Regions from separate parts of the Homo sapiens genome. Here region 1 is linked to region 2. The links are contacts of gene promoters, found by promoter capture Hi-C in blood cells and fetal thymus (Javierre and others, 2016). All regions are on one chromosome and are shown on one strand. Each heading gives the region's core, a stretch centred on a gene start or on the middle of the fragment in contact. The rest is flanking DNA. Distances are from core to core; before and after follow the strand shown. Region 1 has its middle 3.2 kb from the start of NFIA. Region 2 holds the start of PATJ (PATJ crumbs cell polarity complex component).

Region 1 (4,514 bases), core at 2,015-4,514, 660 kb after region 2:
ACAGTGGTTTAGCTGTGACATCTTTTACTTTTTAGGAGGAAAAAAATATGTGAAAGGGATGTCCCCTTAGGGAAGGGAGATATTCTGATCCACAAACGCGTGCCCAGAACTGGACATAGGCTATCATTACCGTCCCAGTTTCTGGGACACCTCTGGAAGGGTGCCTTTTAAGAATCCCTTTTTTCCCTCCCCCAGGTAATAGTTCTTAAAATGGAAAAGAGCTTCCTGCAATTATTTTAGGTTTGCTAAAGTATTGTTTTGGCAGAAAAGAGGGGGGTGGTTTTTAGGGTTTGGCAAGTTGCCAGTAAGCCTGCTTTTCCAGTTTTTTTTTTTTAACCTCATATTTTCTCTCTAGGCTCTCCTCTCTCGGAGGGGGGAAAGCCTACCTGCCTCTTCTAAGCCCCCATCCCTTATTTTACTTCTCTTCCTCATGATGGTTTGCAAAATGCTGCATTTGACAACCCTTCTCAAAATTCCAAAAGGAAAGAGGTAGGTATCATGTTGAAAGACACTGGCACACAGGGGAATCTGCCCTTCGGTGGAGGTGACATAACCAGAGAGTCTCTAAAGAGGGGACATTCCTGTAGGAAAGTGAGGGTAAGTGATGTGTTAACAAGTGAGGGTGAGTGATGTGTTAAGGCCACTCTCATTCAGACTTCTTTTCAAAGCAAGGGGCAGGAAATACTGTACTGGAGAAAGAGCAAAAGAGAACCTCTGAAATAATTCTGCATCTGTCTAAAGTTATTTTATGCTTGTACTTTAGTTACTTTATTGCCAAAATAATTCCCGAATGCTCAAGAACCATTCTCTCTCCCACCCTCCCTCCTGAACATCCTTGGAAATCTCTCAAGATTATTTACTAAGGAGTGAGGAGAAATAATGATTTCAGCCTTTAATGAGAGAGTCCATTTTCCCAAACTTAACCCACTGCTTTTCCTTGGTTCCTCTCAGATTTTAGTAGGGGAGGAATGTCCTAAAAGCCAAGCTGTGTTACAGAGACAACATCCCTGGCCACGAGAACCTTTGCTGGGATCTATAACTTCAATGCGCTCCAAGTTTCCTCGATAGAAGTTTCTGGCTGACGGTCCCAACATGTAACTGAGGCACAGTGAAAAGTTATTGTTCAGAGTGTGTACTCGGGAAGCTCTCTTCCAGAGCAGATTAAAATCTTTCTTTTGGTGTATTAAAAGATACACTTCACATCTGCCTATTTTCAAAACGGCAAAGATTCTTACTTTTGAGTCTCAAGGAAAAAAAAGATTTTTTTTAAAAAGGACTGGCATGTCGCCCTGTTTTTTTTTTTTAATGGGGGAAGTAATTTAATGCTGATATTTCTACTTTAAAAACTTCTTTTGTTGCAGCAGTGGATGTGCCCCGCGATTTCCAGCTTTCTGCGGTTAGCAATATTATCTTAAGTAACTTTTGGCGCCCTTCGTAAGACTTTTGGATATGGGACGATTGTTTGCGCCCTCTAGGCAAGGGCTGGATCCAAGTTCAGCACCAAAGCCCTTCACATCCGCTCCTGCTTTCTCTCCTATCTCCGCCAGCTCCCGCTCCCTCCCCCGCGGAGGGAGGGGGGGAGGCGGGGGAACACTACAAAGCACAGTTCCAACTACAGCCTTTGGAAACAAGACTGAGAAAAATACAGTAGAAGAGTTACAGTTACAGAAAGGCTTCTGGTAACTTTCTCTCCAACAGGCATAAATTTAAACACACGCACAAAGAAACAGATGTTCCTCAAAGGGCAGACTGGGGGTAAAAAACATTTCCAACCCTCTCCCCTCTTCCCAAGTTGCAAAAGTAAATCCTTGTCCAGAGTTCACAAAGATACTAAGGCACTTGAGAGAGAGCAGGGATGGAGGAGGAGGGAAGAAAGAAAGGATAGTAGAGAGAGCAGTGGAGGAAACGCAGGTGAAGTATGGAAACTAGTTCACTGCAATCATATAAATGACCCATTGTTAGGAAGGATAAACCCCTTATTGGAAATAACCTCTCCAATCATTTATTTTCCAAGTGGTAGGAGGCTGCCTTGAAATGGGATTGTCTCTGCGCAAAGGAGGCTCCTGTCATGCTCTCTGCTATCCATATTCTTCCTGGCACAGAGCCCAGCCTTGCATTTACTGTGTTTTATTTGCAGAAACGTTACCTTGCCAGCTTTAGTGAAATCCTCTTAGATATATAAATTACGTCAATAAGGTTTCACTTATATGTACATCTCAAATAGCTCTCATTTTGGAGGTTACTTAATAGGGAGATCTTATTAATATGATTTAGATTTTAATACCCAAAGCAGTGAAGATAGGACTGGGATTCATAAGCGACAACACCATAACTCTGTAGTTCTTACCAAAACTAACTTTATTAACTGGCATTTTTCAACATTTTTTCTTCTCTGGTTTTTGACCTGCTGGTCACTTCTGTGCAGATTTTTCTTATGTGCATATAATCCTAAATTGAATCATGTTGCTGAAGTGAGTGTCCAAGTGAATTCTTACATCAAATTTCCAAGCCAGATTTGACTGGAAGGCCTAAAGCCTTGGGAAATAGCTCGATGGGAATTTAATCCAAAGAAGGGAAAGAGCCCATATTATTTTCCATTCACTTCCCAACAGAATTGGGTGTCTACGCTGCTCAGAGAGGAGGAGATGGAGATATTTTAGTCAGAGGCTGCCAGTTACTGTCTCCAAGACAAGCTACTGCAGTTGGTTTCCACTGGATTTGTATCAAGCACTTGTCCAAGAGGCCAGACTCCAACTAACAGTTAGCAAGTCAGCGATCTTCCATACACTCTCCACGGGGGTTGTTGTGGTAACAAGGAGAAACGTGAACTTGGCCAGTCTTAACGTCCTATTTCCTACTGACCATATACTTAAAAAGCAGAATTCAAGAATAGCCAAGAAAAAACACTCCCCTAATTTCTTTCAAGTGTGTAAGACAGCTGCTAGTCCACATGTGAAACATTCTCTCCTTTAAAACTGTTGTTTAGAGTTCAAGAAGAGAGGTTTACCTATTAATTTCAAAGTACTTGAAATGCCAAAGCTTCTAAGATAATCAGAGTAAGAAGTTTTGTAATGCTGAATACGCAATATATTACTTCCCAAAGCTCACTACAGTCCCACAATTCAGGCAAGATTTAAGCCACACGTTTCTTAAAGTTGAACTTCACATTCCACAAGTTACCAGCTTCCCTGAGCATAAAAATAATAGCTAATGCAAAGTTAATAACAATACAAAGTTATTTCTCTAGCAGAATGTTTCTTTTTCCAAAAGACAAGGAAGAAGGCACACGATTCATGCAAAACTCCCCCGATCAGCTTTTTTTTTTTTCTTAAACGCGAAAATTCTTTCCTATTGTGCTTGCTAAATCCGGAAGCGCTTGTAGCTTTGACAGCTTGAACCACACCATCCCCTTCAGAGCTGCAGAGAACTTCAGATCTCCTCTGCCCCGCCCCCTCTGGCTATTGAGAACTATTGTACACCCAAGCTTCCTTATGATTGGATAAAGCTTTTGTCAATCTCCCAAGTTGTCCCATTGATTAGAGGATCAAATCGTCAATTATTCTCCGGGTCCAGACATTTCTTTTCGGGTTAGGTTGACTGCTGAGGCCAGACGTCTTTTACAGAACAGAGCACGTACAGGATTTCCCCCCACCCCTTTCTGGAACCGAGCAAGCGCTAGGAGGAAAAAAAAATCTGTCAAGCTCAGCAATTTTTTCAAATCCCGAAAAAAAAAAAAAAGAAAAAGAAAACCCGGTCTCTGATGCACATAGCAAAAACACCATCAACAAAGCTACATCTTTAAAACAAAACCATCACAATAGACATTTACCCAGCAATCACTTAAGTGCATATGCGAGCTAGAGAAATTTTAGTCTTAGCCATTAAACAAAATCATTCTACCATTGTTTATAAAACGCATATCATATAAATGCAAAATAGAAAGTTTAAGATGTACCACGTACCATTGCAATGTAAAAAGAGTACGTGAGAAACTTTAAAATGCTCAGACGAATTGCTTCATTTGTTGTCCCCTTTTTTTTGCATTTAAAAAATATCTAAATAAACTTGGAACCGTTGAAAACCCGGAAGAGATTTTTTAAAAAGCTGTTGGCCAATTGCAGGCTTCTTGGAGAATTTTTTTTTTAACTCCAAATCAGAAGGCTTTTGCAATTGCAAGGCGCGCTCTCTCCCTCTCTCACTGTCTCGCTCTCGCTCGCTCGCTCGCTCGCTCTCACTCTCTCTTTTGAAAGCGATCCAACCCGGGCTGGCTGGTTCTCAGATTCGCTCTGGTTTTGCCTTGCGTGCTTTGGATTGTACGAGACTTTGCAGAAGTTGCAATCGATTCGGCAGTCCCTCTCTCCTCTCCCAACTCCCTTGTTTATTTCCGCAATCGCTGCAATTTGCATAGTAACCACGCACGAGGTACCGGCGGCAGCCTGCGGCGGAGGGGGCAGGGAGGGGGCAGGGAAAAGGCCTTGCCCCCTTCTCCCCTCCTCCAGTCTGTCTCCCCGCCA
Region 2 (4,683 bases), core at 2,184-4,683:
AAAAATAATTGCCAGGCCCGGTGGTTCACGCCTGTAATCCCAGCACTTTGGGAGTCCAAGGCGGGTGGATCGCCTGAGGTCAGGAGTTCGAGACCAGCCTGGCCAGCATGGTGAAACCCCATCTCTACTAAAAATATAAAAATTAGACAGGTGTGGTGGCAGGCGCCTGTAATCCCAGCTACTTGGGAAGCTGAGGCAAGAGAAGCGCTTGACCCTGGGAGGCAGAGGTTGTAGTGAGCCAAGACAGCGCCATTGCACTCCAGCCTGGGCAACAGAGCAAGACTCCGTCTCCAAATAAATAAATTAATTAATTAAAATAAAATAAAGTAAAATAATTTTGGCTAGGTGCAGTGACTCACGCCTGTAATCCCAGCACTTTGGGAGGCCAAGACAGGTGGATCACTTGAGGTCAGGAGTTCGAGACCAGCCTGGCCAATATGGTAAAACCCTGTCTCTACTAAAAATACAAAAATTAGCCAGGTATGGTGGCACATGTCTGTAATCCCAGCTACTCAGGAGTCTGAGGCAGGACAATCACTTGAACCCGGGAAGTGGAGGTTGCAGTGAGCTGAGATCACCCACTGCACTCCAGCCTGGGCAGCGGAGCAAGACTCTGTCTCAAAATAAATAAATAAATAAATATTTAAAAAAATTATCTGATCTCCCTTGTCTGATTGTAGGTCATAAGACCCCCATAAGAAGGGGTCCTGCCCATACCCTGGAGGAAGGAATGCTACAGAGAGAGGCCAAGAAAAATCTGAACAGATAGGCATTGCTGGGTTTCCCTACCCCATGCTTCAATTATGTCTACTCAATGAAGTCTCCATAAAAAGCCCAAGAAGATGGGGTAGGGAGAGCTTCTCAATATCTGAACACATGGAGGTTCCTGGAGGGTGGCATGCCCCTTCTCATACCTCACCCTGTGCATCTCTTCCTCTTGTATCCTCTGTAATATTCTTAATAATAAACTAGTAATAAACCTAAATAAGTGTTTTCTTGAGTTCCGTGAGCTGCTCTAGCAAGTTAACCAACCCAGAGGAGGGAGTTATGGGATTCCCAATTTATAGGTGGTTAGTCAGAAGCCGGGGTAAAACAATCTAGGACTTGTGATTGGCATCAGAAGTGAGGGCAGTCTTATGGGATCTGACACTATCCCCAGGTAAATAGTTTCAGAATCGAACTGTTAGATGCTCAGCTATTGCTTGATGCAGAACTGATGGGCCCACACATTTATTTGGTCACAGAAGTCCTCAGTGTTGACTGTAGTGGTGTGAGAGCAGAGGAAAAAGTTTGTGTTTTTTCTCTTACTCCTAATAGGATCTGGACTAGTAAGGGCAAATCTCTTCAGAACTCATTTTATAAGTTCTATCCATAAGTATTTCCATATTTATTAACTTTGTTATTATCTTTGTGAAAGTTGCAGATACCAGGTCAAAATCACTTTTTGTCAAACCCAAACAAACTAGAGAGCCTGAGGGAGAAAGCTCATGCTTGCAAGTCTGAGATAAAGATCGGTCTCAAGAAGGAACTAAAATAACCACCCAAGAAATTCTTTCTTTAGGAATGCAGTAATTCAGATAAGATAAGATAAGATAATCTTTTTTCCTTTTTTTTTTTTTTTTTTTTTTGAGACAGGGTTCTTGCTCTGTCACCCAGGCTGGAGTGTAGTGGTGCAAACACCACTCACCACAGCCTCCATCTCCTGGGCTCAAGCAATTCCCCTGCCTCAACCTCCCGACACACCTGACTATTTAAAAAGCTTTTTCTGTAAAGACAGCCATGTTGCTCAGGCTGGTCTCCAACTCTTGGCCTCAAGCGATCCTCCTGCCTAAGCCTCCTAAGTAGCTGAGATAACAGGCATGAGGCAGGTTGCCAGGCCTGATAAGATGCTCTCCATAACACCTGCCCAGTAATGGCATCTTCAACAATGGCCAACTCTGGCTTTCAGTCTGCAAAACCAATAAACTCTGTTTTCACGCAGCTTATCTGCACTTACTTTGCCAATAAAAGTTTCCTTTTACCCTCCCCTCTTCCATGCATATATGGCTTGCCAGGCCTGTGCACCTCGGGCTATAACGCTCATTTCTCATTCCCAAATAAATTCAACACATTTGGAGTGTTTTGTTGTTGTTGTTATTGTTAACATCTTAAAGGCCATTAGGGGCCCTAAAAACATCAAAGCTCACTTTAGCTAAAAGGCTCAATCTCACCTAACATTTTCTAATGCTGCAAACAGATTTAAGTTTTTAACCGCTGCCCCTGCCTCCACTCCTTTCAAATAGATGTGTGCAAATTAATTTGCAGCCAATAGGAATTTAGCCCAGAATGTGGTAGTATCATCCTCAGTGGAACCGACATTGTCCTTCTGGGTTTCCAAAGGCTTCTGCCTTCCTTTAAGAAACACTTGTCGCGCACCTACCAATAGCCAGACCCTAAATGCAGTCGAAAAATAAGGCCCTGAAAGGGGCACCCTCTAAATGGCAGAGGCAAGCCAGTAAACAACCAACTGGAATTCAAAGTGACAAGAGCCACTTGGAAATATGACAAAGTGCCAAGTGAAGGGGTGTTCACTTAATTCGGCCTGCGTGCGGGACGGCTGGGGCGCTTTGGAGAGTGGGAGTGATCTGAAAATGCTTTCCTGAGCTTGATTTAAAAGCAGGAGTCCAGGAATTTCCCCTAAGGCTGGAAGCACTTTCCGACAGAACCTCCCCATCTACGCAGCAAGGCTGGCAGAGCCCAGGGCCTGACCGCTGGCTTGGGAACCTCCGCTACGGGATGACCAGGCGCCGCGACGCGGCCGGGCCCAAGTCGCCCCCTCAGCCCGGCTCTGAGCACCCCCTCCTCTTTGTCCCCTCACCCCGTTCCCTCCTTCCACGGCCACCGATGGAGGGAAAGACTCCGCCCAGCTCTGGGAGCGAAACAGGGGCACCGATCTGGGCGCAAAATAGGATCCGTGCCACCCCCGAATACCAGTGGGCCGAGATTCGAGGCCCGAAAGGCCTGGGGAGGCGGGGCGGCGCCCCTCCCTGCCCGCGGCCTCGGCGAGCCCTGCGCGGCGGGGCGGGGACCACCGTGGGGTCACCCGGGCCCGACGCAGGAGGACGGCGCCCCCGCCCCGCCTCCCGGGTCAGCGCGGACGCACGCCGCGGGCGCCCCATCCTCGCCGCGGCCCCTCTGAGCGCCCGGCGGCGCCCTCCACCTCCGGCTCCCACCCACTCCAGGCGGGCGGGCGGGGAGAGCGCGGGGGCAGGGCAGGCAGGCCCGGGAAGCCCCGAGGGAGCTGCCCCCGGCCGGCCTCCAGGCGCGGGGACACCCAGGGGCGAGCGCGCACTGCACAGCCGGGACCTCACGCTTTACCTGGTGCGCTGGAGGAGCAGGTGGGAGCCCGGGTCGGGCGGGCTCGGTGTCGGCCCTGCCTCACCTGGGCGGAAGTGAGAGGCCCAGGGTGACCGCGCCTCACCTGGCAGGCCCTCCCCTCGCCCCGACTCTCCCCGCCCGGGGCGGGGCACCGGGGTGGCGCAGGGGGCGGGGGAGGGAGCCCGGGGCCGCGGGAGGCGGGCTCCAAGGAGGGAGGACGGTTGCCCTGGCTGTTTACGTGCAGGTGAATTCCTACCGGGCGCGGGATGGCCAAGGGCCTGGGAAAAGTGGGCTGTGGGGGCGGGGTGGCGGATCAGACCGCGCGTGGTGGGGACAGCCGCCACTGACGGGGAGGGAGATCCGGACAGACCGGTGTGGTTGGAGGCCTGCGTGTAGAGCGAGACCCAAGATCAAGGAAATTGAGGAGGATATCGATGAAAGCGTTGGGTCAATCCGCTTAACACTTTGTCTTTTTGCCCCTTTCCTTTCCTGTTCTCTCATCCCTCCTTTGTTTTCTCTATTCGCTGACGCAAAATAAAATATTCTAAAACGTGTAAATGTGGGAGTCATTATTTTCTTCTCATTTAGTGGAAGAAAGAAATCCAGCAGTATTTGCCTGCTGTATGCTAGGTGCTAGCTTATGCAATGTCTCATTTACTCTCTGAAGAAACTAATGAGGAAACCGTGCACCCTGTAGGTTGACTGGCCCAAAGTTTGGAACACAGGCAAGGCATTTTGACTCTAACTACAGTGATGATTTCACTATACGTTAATTTTCTTTTATTTGTGATGTCACACCTTCGAGAAAAATATGTCCCGATAGCCTTCTTCCACTCCCTTTAATAACTTTAGGCTTTTGATGATAGGGGTTTTACTTTGCCTGATACAGTCCACACATTAACGATAAAGAGAATCAATCTTCAGGTATCTTATTCATAGAGTACATACAGTAATTGTTAAACACTGTGATTGATTGTGGGAAGATGTGTAAAATGGTATCCCTGTCCCCAGGAAGATGAGGAATAGATACAAAACAACTACAACATAAAGACTTTCAGGCGGGGCGCGGTGGCTCACGCTTGTAATCCCAGTACTTTGGAAGGCCGAGGCGGGTGGATCACCCGAGGTCAGGAGTTCGAGACCAGCCTGACCAATATGATGAAACCCCGTCTCTACTACAAATACAAAAATTAGCCGGGTGTGGTGGATGCGTAGTCCCCTCTACGCAGGAGGCTGAGGCAGGAGAATCACTTGAACCCAGGAGGCAGAGGTTGCAGTGAGCCAAGATCCTGCCACTGCACTCCAGCCTGGGTGACAGAGAGAGAC

What was found. Contacts are between HindIII fragments. The CHiCAGO score rates a contact against its expected background, and 5 or more counts as called.
Region 1: a fragment that was not itself captured here is called in contact with the fragment with the promoter of PATJ in region 2 in 1 of 17 cell types (total CD8 T cells); the score reaches 7.3 in total CD8 T cells.

What each region holds. Positions count from the first base shown.
Region 1 is chr1:61,077,077-61,081,590 of GRCh38, reverse strand. It overlaps a transcript of NFIA not described here. Among named protein-coding and RNA genes, the nearest start is that of NFIA, 3.2 kb to the left of the region's middle. The HindIII fragment of the contact is 445 bases long and covers 3,042-3,486 here.
Region 2 is chr1:61,741,230-61,745,912 of GRCh38, reverse strand. PATJ (PATJ crumbs cell polarity complex component) reads right to left here and starts at 3,433. Exons shown (of 44, transcript NM_001350145.3): 1 at 3,358-3,433. PATJ-DT (PATJ divergent transcript) reads left to right here and starts at 3,129. Exons shown (of 1, transcript NR_185910.1): 1 at 3,129-3,915. RefSeq lists a silencer at 2,972-3,681. The HindIII fragment of the contact is 6,850 bases long and covers 1,762-4,683 here.